Regions from separate parts of the Homo sapiens genome. Here all the other regions are linked to region 3. Evidence: promoter capture Hi-C in 16 types of primary human blood cells and fetal thymus (Javierre and others, 2016). All regions are on one chromosome and are shown on one strand. The core of a region is centred on a gene start or on the middle of the fragment in contact, and the rest is flanking DNA. Distances in the headings are between cores, read along the strand shown. Region 1 overlaps SPATA31H1 (SPATA31 subfamily H member 1). Region 2 overlaps ZNF512 (zinc finger protein 512). Region 3 holds the start of ZNF513 (zinc finger protein 513).

Evidence for each region. Contacts are between HindIII fragments. The CHiCAGO score rates a contact against its expected background, and 5 or more counts as called.
Region 1: a fragment that was not itself captured here is called in contact with the fragment with the promoter of ZNF513 in region 3 in 1 of 17 cell types (naive B cells); the score reaches 5.5 in naive B cells.
Region 2: a fragment that was not itself captured here is called in contact with the fragment with the promoter of ZNF513 in region 3 in 1 of 17 cell types (erythroblasts); the score reaches 5.6 in erythroblasts.

What each region holds. Positions count from the first base shown.
Region 1 is chr2:27,573,687-27,576,387 of GRCh38, forward strand. SPATA31H1 (SPATA31 subfamily H member 1) reads left to right here. Exons shown (of 5, transcript NM_032266.5): 5 at 1-2,701. Among named protein-coding and RNA genes, the nearest start is that of ZNF512, 8.0 kb to the right of the region's middle. The HindIII fragment of the contact is 237 bases long and covers 1,229-1,465 here.
Region 2 is chr2:27,596,901-27,599,600 of GRCh38, forward strand. ZNF512 (zinc finger protein 512) reads left to right here. Exons shown (of 14, transcript NM_032434.4): 3 at 1,167-1,354; 4 at 2,683-2,700. Among named protein-coding and RNA genes, the nearest start is that of ZNF512, 15 kb to the left of the region's middle. The HindIII fragment of the contact is 2,753 bases long and covers 17-2,700 here.
Region 3 is chr2:27,379,465-27,382,231 of GRCh38, forward strand. ZNF513 (zinc finger protein 513) reads right to left here and starts at 1,270. Exons shown (of 4, transcript NM_144631.6): 1 at 1,008-1,270; 2 at 629-784. The coding sequence starts at 1,062. PPM1G (protein phosphatase, Mg2+/Mn2+ dependent 1G) reads right to left here. Exons shown (of 10, transcript NM_177983.3): 9 at 2,662-2,764; 10 at 1,735-2,341. The coding sequence ends at 2,135. RefSeq lists a silencer at 1,023-1,242. The HindIII fragment of the contact is 8,929 bases long and covers 1-2,767 here.

The DNA of each region.
Region 1 (2,701 bases), core at 97-2,596, 190 kb after region 3:
ACCCCAAGACCACAGCTGCACAAAGTGAAACCCTTGGAGGCATGCCCAGGAACACAGCTGCAAGATGTGAAGTCTCCAGCGTTTACACAAGTGCCACAGTTTTCAGGGGTGAAATCTGGAGTATTAAGCCAAGAGCTACCATTACAAAGTGATAAAACTGTAGCGCTGAACTCCTTACTACACTTGAAAAGCAAGAAATCATCTGAATTGGCTCATCAGACAGAACTTCCAGGTATGAAATCTGAGGAGTTCAACTCTGGGCCACAATGGCAATGTGTCAAATCTTCTAAGTTGAACCCTAAGACAAAGTCCCAAGACATGAAGTTTAGAGAGTTAAACCCCAGTTCACAATTGAAAGATATCCCATATTATGATTTGACCACAAGGACCAAGATTCAAGGTGTCAAATCTACAGACTTCAAACCTGGGCCACAGTTGCAAGGAGTGAAATCTTCTGAGTCGATACCGAAGACAAAGCTTCAAGAAGTGAAATTAATGGAATGCAACTCAGGCCCACGGTTGCAAGATTTGAAATCTTCTAGGTTGATCATTGGTATAAAGTGTCAAGACATTAAATCTATGGATTTCAGTTCTGGACCACACTTACAGACTGTGAAATCTTCTGAAGTGATTCCAGGGGGAAAGCTTCAGGGTGTGAAATCGGTAGAATTCAAACCTAGTCCAAAGTTACAAAGTGAGAAATCTGATTTGACCCTGGGGAGGAAGTTTCCAGGTGTGAAATCTGTAGAGCTGGAATCAGGCCCACAGTTACAAGATATAAAATCTTCTGATCTGATCATGGGTATAAAGCTTCAAGATGTAAAATCTATGAAGTTCAGTTCTGGACAACACTTTCAAGGTATAAAATCTTCTGAGGTAACCTCAGGGACAAGGCTTCAAAGTATGAAATCAATGGATTTCAATTCTGGACAACAGACACAAAGCGAAAAATCTTCTGAGTTGATTCAGGGAACAAACCATCAAGATGTTAAATCTGTAGAATTCCACCATGGTCTAAAGTTACAAGGTGTGACATCTTCTGAGTTAACACCAGAGACAAAGCTTCAAGGTGGGGAATCTGTGGAGTTCAACTCGGGCCCACAGTGGCAAGATACAAAATATTCTAACTCAATAATGGGGACAGAGCTTCAAGATGTAAAATCTATGGAGTTCAGTTCTGGATCACACTTGCAAGGTATGAAATCTTCTGAAGTGATCCCAGCGACAAAGCTTCAAAAAGTGAAATCTGTGCTCATGCCTAGGCCAATGCGGCAAGATGTGAAATCTTCTGAATTGACTGTAGGTACAAAGGTACAGGATAGGACATCTTTGGAGTTAAGCTCAACTTCACAGTTACAAGATAGAAAATTATCTATGTTGACACCAGGGATACACCTTCAGGGTGTGAAATCTGTAGAATATAATCCTGGGGCAAAGTTGGAAGATATGAAATCTGGGTTGATAAAGCTTCAGACGGTGAACTCTACAGAAGGCAACCATGACCCAGAATTGCAGGTTGCAAAACTCTCTAAGTTGGCCTTGGAATCAAAGATTCATAGTGTGGCACCTTCTGAGTTCAATGCTGAAAAGCAGCAGCAAGATGAGAAATCTCATAAATTGAATCCATGGCCAGACCTTCAAAGTGTAAAATTTATGGTGTTCAATCCTGAGCCACATCTGCAACATAGAAAATCTTCAGAATTATGCACAGGGACAAAGCTTCAAGATGTAAAATCTATGAAATTCAATCTTCAGCAACAGTTGCAAGGTGTGAAATCTTCTGAGTTGTGCCTAGGAACAAGGCTTCAAGGTATACAATCTTTAGATTTCAACCCTGGACCACAGTTGCAAGGAACAAAATCTGCCAAGTTGAATCCTGGGCCTGAGCTTCAAGGTATAAAATCTAAGGTGTTCTGCCTTGGACCACATTTGCAAGATGTGAATTCTTCTGTATCCATTCCAGAGCCACCACATCAGTGTGTAAATTCTACTGGGAGCAACTGTGGGCTACCTTTGCAAGGTGTAAATTCTGCATCCATTCCAGCACCTAAACTTCAGTGTATAAGTTCTAATGGGTGCATCCCTGGGCCACATTTGCAAGGTGTGAATTCTGCATTCATTCCACAGCCAAAAGCTCACTGTGTAAATTCTATTGGGTGCAACCCAGGGCCGTATTTACAAGGTATGAAATCGCCTGAATTAACTCCAGTTTCAAAACTTCAAGGTATGAAGTGTTCTGAATTGAACCCAGGGACAGAAATTCAAAGTGAGACACCTATGATGTTCAACCCTATACCACATTTGCAAGGTTTAAAATCTGAATTGACTCCAGGGTCAAAGCTTCTACGTGCAGCACCTATGGAATGCAACCCTGGGCCACAGGTGCAGTATGTGAATTCTTCTGAGTTGAATCCAGGGCTAAAATTGCAATGTATAGATTCTATGGAGTGCAAACTTGCGCCACACTTGCAAGGTGTAGAATCAGGGACAAAATTTCAAGTTATGAAATTTTCTGAGTTGCATCCAGGGCCAGAGCTTCAAGGTATAAAATCTGTTGTGTTCAACTCTGTGCAACATTTACAAGATGTAAAATGTGAACTGACTCCAGGGACAAAATTTCAAGATATAACACCAAAGGAGTTCAACTCTGGCCCGCAGCTGCAAGGTATGAATTCTGAGGAGTTCCATTCACACCTCAGGC
Region 2 (2,700 bases), core at 143-2,642, 220 kb after region 3:
ACTCCTTTAAAAAATAAGCTTTAAAATAAGCTGCTTTATGTGTGGATTTGTTTTTAGCTTGCTGAACTGACATTGTGCTAGAGATACTGTTTTGTTTCTTTTTTCATTCAACAATATACTTTTTAGTTATGGTCGTGTCTCTATGTGTAGAATTAGTTTATTGCTTCTAACAGCAGCACAGTATTCCATAGTAGGCATCTATCACATTTTGCAAGGATGGTCACTGTGTTACTTCCAACTCCCTGATGTCATAAGCAAACCTCTCTATGTGTAATTCTTATTAGCTCTACATCTAAAGTGTTACCTTGAATCTGCCAATTCAAGTTAACTTTTTTCCTTTTGTTTACTCTTTCTCCCATGGGCTGTCTCCATAGAGCAGCCAGAAGGATCTTTCTGAACCATAAATCTAAAGTAGGCCTCACAGGTATTTAGCTGGAAAAGGGAGGTTCTAGGAGTCCATTGACCACTCTTGGAGAACTGCTGCTCTGCTGCATCTTGAGCCACCTAGAAGAATGTCTGATGCTTTGTAGTTACAGAGTAATGTTTTTTAGCTGTCATACTGACTGGTCTTAGATTTTGGAATCTGGATTCAGCTGTATACCAGAAATCTCTGGCCAGGTTAATTCATGCAAGATAGCATCCATCCTTTAGCTGTGGAAGCTAAGTATCATGTTGCCTAAATAAGATAGGGCATCAGGTTTTAGGGAGAATGCTGAGGCAGAAGGAAGATGAGTCAGATTAGGGCCCACAGACTATTCCTTTCCCTTAGAGATACCCTTTAGTTGCCATCCCTCTGTCAGAGAAAGAGAGAGGCTGGGACATACCAGGTTACAAATCCAGGGAGTCTTCTGAAGGGTCATAGAACACCTTTATTGCTTCACCTACTTTCTTTTATTAGATGAATCTAGGAAGGAATGTCTACTTGGGCTGCAAAGTGATCATTTATGTGTACTGCTTACTCTTATTACAATGAAGTGTGATAATAATTGTACATGTTGTGTTAGATCAACTATTGTTATTGTTAGGTGATTACAACTTACATTCTGTTTTTATAGCAGGCTTCTTAGTTTTCTGCAGAGGTAACCAACTTGGTTATAATGTAAAAGAATGTATAGAAATTTTGCTCCAGACCTTCCTTTGTGGTATATATTTTTATGTTGTATTAGTAGCAGGACCCAGTGCTCCATAAAGGATAATAGTTTCCAGTACACTATCCCTCATGATGACTCCTTAAGTGGTTCATCGTCTGCATCTTCGTGTGAACCAGTGAGTGATTTTCCAGCATCTTTCCGAAAATCTACCTACTGGATGAAGATGAGAAGAATCAAGCCAGCTGCTACTTCTCATGTCGAAGGTATCAATATCAGTGTCTTATTCTGAAGACGGGCCACTTCCTAAAGTTATAGTTTGAGATTGTTATAAATACCTCTTAAAAGTATTAAATGGCGGCTGAGCGTGGTGGCTCACGCCTGTAATCCCAGCACTTTGGGAGGTCGAGGCGGGCGGATCACAAGGTCAGGAGATCGAGACCATCCTGGCTAACATGGTGAAACCCCGTCTCTACTAAAAATACAAAAAATTAGCGGGGCCTGGTGGTGGGCGCCTGTAGTCCCAGCTACTCAGGAGGCTGAGGCAGGAGAATGGCATGAACCTGGGAGGCAGAGGTTGCACTGAGCAGAGATCGCACCATTGCACTGTAGCCTGGGCGAAAGAGCGAGACTCCGTCTCAAAAAAAAAAAAAAAAGAGTATGAAATGCCACATATTTGTTTCTCATTAGTGATTTAAAAAAATTTAAGGTGTTAGGCAATTGCATCCTGTCCCATTAGCTTCATGAACTGCTATGTGATAGAGTGAAATTCTGCTAATCTTACTCCTCTAGATTATATTTAGCATTTGATTTTCCTCTTTGTAGTATTTGAATTCCCCTTTTCTTCTTCTTTTTTTTTTGAGACGGAGTTTCACTCTTCTTGCCCAGACTAGAGTGCAATGACTCGAGCTCAGGCTCACCGCACCCTCCTTCTCCTGGGTTCAAGCGATTCTCCTGCCTCAGCTTGTAATGCCAGCTGAGTAGCTGGGATTACAGGCATGTGCCACCACACCTGGCTAATTTTGTATTTTTAGCAGAGACGGGGTTTCTCCATGTTGGTCAGGCTGGTCTTGAACTCCTGACCTCAGGTAATCCGCCCACTTTGGCCAAAGTCTGTAATCTCAAAGTGCTGGGATTACAGATGTGAGTCACCATGGCTGGCCCCCCTTTTCTTCTAGTGTGATCCTCTGTTGATGATTTAGGGGCTGGTGTAAGGATTATTCAGGGGAGAATATTCTGGATCGTCACAATCTCAAGGGTCCTTGGTGGCTAGCCCTCTATCTTGAGCAATTCTTATCCTCTTGTTAGCCTCAAGTCAAGATTAAGCAAAACACATTGCTTGAATGCCCTTATTATTCATAAGGAACAATGGATGATTTGGAATAGATAACAATATAAAAAGAAAGGGAGAGTGGGTCAGTTAATGAGAAGTTACACCAACTTCTCTAAAAATGTCACAGACATTTCTCTGAGGCCTGTGTTCACTGATGATCTTTCCTTTTGATGGTCTTGTGAATGATGTTTTGAAGACAGGCCTAGATGTTCATTTACAAAGTGTGCTGAGTTTTTGTTTTGTTTTTGTATGGTACTTCAGGGTCAGGTGGAGTATCAG
Region 3 (2,767 bases), core at 20-2,519:
AAACCTATCTCTGAGGCAAAATTTGGAGGGAAGTGGAGACAATGAAAGTAATGCATGTAATACCACTTGCCTGCCTAAAGAACAGATATTTACATGGATCCCCTCAATGACTTTCAAAAAACATCTTGCATAAGTGGATGGGTAGTGCAGCAAATTAGGGTAGGGTGATGCTAAGATCACAGGGAAGAGGGACATGGAAGGATAAAGACAGAAACTAAAACCTCTCAATACAAAAGGAGCTTACGCTGCAGGTGAAAGGGAGTTAGATTAGACCTAAATACTGGGTTGAATGATTTACAGAGAGTTTGCTTCCCTGAACCTCTCTTAAAAGTAAATACACATAAGGAATGGGCTAGGGAGAGAGACAGGGCATTTACTTTTAATCAGTTGCTCCATGTGATTCACCCACCCTCCTATTCCTATCACCTTTGACCAGGCCTCAGAACTTCACCTCAACAAAGTGATGGAAGTGATTGGACCATTAAACAAATGAAGTCATCTAGCTCAAATGTAAACTAAACCAGCCCTCGGTTGTGGCAGGAAATGGTGTTCTGTTCACCTAACCTGCCTCCTGAAGGGCTGGGGTCTCCAGCGGCCGCTAATCCTTAACCAAGACCCGAAAACCCACCTTCCGAGTCTCTCTCGAAGCCCATGAGCTGGTCACTGTTGCCGTCGCCTTCCTCCTCTTCCTCTTCCTCCTCAAACTCCAGATCCTGGCCTAGTAGCAAATCACTCTCCAATACCAGGGCCCCGGGTCCTTCGTCGAGGGAGTCTTCAGTATCCACTGAAGAGGGGAGGGGGCTTGTGGATTCTCCCTCAGGAACCAGCCCTCGTGGACCACACTTCCCGTACTCGCTGACCCACTCTGATTCCCTTAGTGCCTCGGTGGGAAGCTAGGAGTCTGGATCGCCCACTTCATCCCTCAGGAGTCCCCCTCCACCCTGACCTGAGCCCACTCCACTGACCCCACCCCCGCTCCTCTCCCCTCAAGGCCCCTGACCCCTGACCTTTGACCCCCTCGCATTTCACGGGCTGCGGGTGGCTTTGCTTCCTTCGGGGCATCGTGACCGGCTCCAGCCCGACGCGCCTCCGGCCTGCGGCCGCCCGACCCCGCCCCTCCTATCTCGGCCCGCCTGTCTGCCCTTCCTCTCAGGGCCCGCGGGCCGCCCCCATGCAGCGGCGCGGGCCCTGGGCAGCCCCCGGCCCTGGCCCCGGCGCCCAGCTCAGGCCGCTCCCGCCGCCGCCGCCGCTTCCATTCATGGAGCCCCCTACCCCCCTACGGAGACCAGCTGGTACCTCCGTACTCGCTTCCGCTTCCGCCGCCGCAGAGACGCACGGGACGCGTAGTCCGTGGGAAGCGGCCGCGGCGGGAGCCTCAATGGCGTGACCGGGAAGTGATTGTGACGAGGCGGGGAGCAAGCCAATCAGCGGCAGCGGGGAGCCGGCCAGGGAGCAGCGCAGGAGGCGTCCTGCCCGACTCCAGGCTTCAGGCCAGCCAGACCGGTCCCAACCTGTCCCTGGGGGAACTAGATCATTTCTGGCTGCAGGAGGGGGCGAGGGGCAGCCGCGACGCCCGCCAGGCCGGCCTACCAGCAGCTCGCTCTGGGCTCTCCTATACACGCGCAGGACACACACGAGCACACGCACACACTCACATGGGGGCTCGCCACATGCTACAGATGGGACCAAGTCGGGGGCCACGGCAGCAGAAAAAAAAGGACACGATGCGTACGATTAGGTTTTGGCCTTTAGTCTGAAAAAGTGTTGATTGAAAGTGTACAACAGAGAGCGGGTGCAAGCGGCCGAGGGCCATGGAGCCGCCAATAAAAAAGAATGTCCTTAAATAAAGTTCACAGAGTAAAAACCAGAACCGCCAGTCCTTCCCTCCAACACAACAGAGCACAGGCACAGAACCGGTGATGAGCCCGAGGAGCAGAGGCGGCTGGGAAGGACAGCAGAGGCTCCCGGCTGCAGTGTGGAGGGAGAGCCCTCTTTGGAATGGGCGGAGTGAAGCCACCCAGCTCCCCCTGCACACCTCATACCCACTGCTAAGGCTAAAGGAAAAAGACAAAACTCAGTCTCAGGTCCGGAGGGCTCAGAAAACAGTCTAGGTGGGCAGGGGTCTGGATGACTGCTAGTCTCGCTTGGCCTTCTTCTTCTTGTCGCTGTTGCCATTTTCTTCAGCCCCCTCAGTAGAGAGCACCTCCTCTAGTTTTCGCTTGCCACTCTCTGGCTGGAGCTCTGCTGTGTTTCGGGGCTTGAAGCAAATGATGATGCAGGTCATGTTGTCACACCCTGTACCATCCCCAGAAGTGTCTGGTGCCAGGCACTGATCCAGCAGCTAAGAAAGGGATGGGGGTAGCTCAGCCACAGGGTTTGAACACCTTGCCAGGAATCTACAGTCCCACAAGAGGGCTGGCTTGCTGAGTCAGGGTGGTAGGAGAGGAATGGGCAAGAGGTATCACACAACGGCCCACCTGCTAGTCCATAAGGCATAAGGCTAAGTCAGGGAAATGACAGAAGGTGGAACTTTGGAGTCGGGGTTTAGCGTCTGTCAGCAATTACTGATAATGCTCCCAGATTGCCGACTTAGCTCAGATTAAAAGAGTGAACCCTGGCTGTGCAGACCAGACACCCTCTCTTCTCCACCCTGGTACTCACCTCTTCCACAATGGATGACAATAACCGAAGCTCCCCATTTTCATCACGCTGGCTGATCTTTGATTGAATGAAATCTACAACTTCCTGGCTGCTCATCACATTCCTG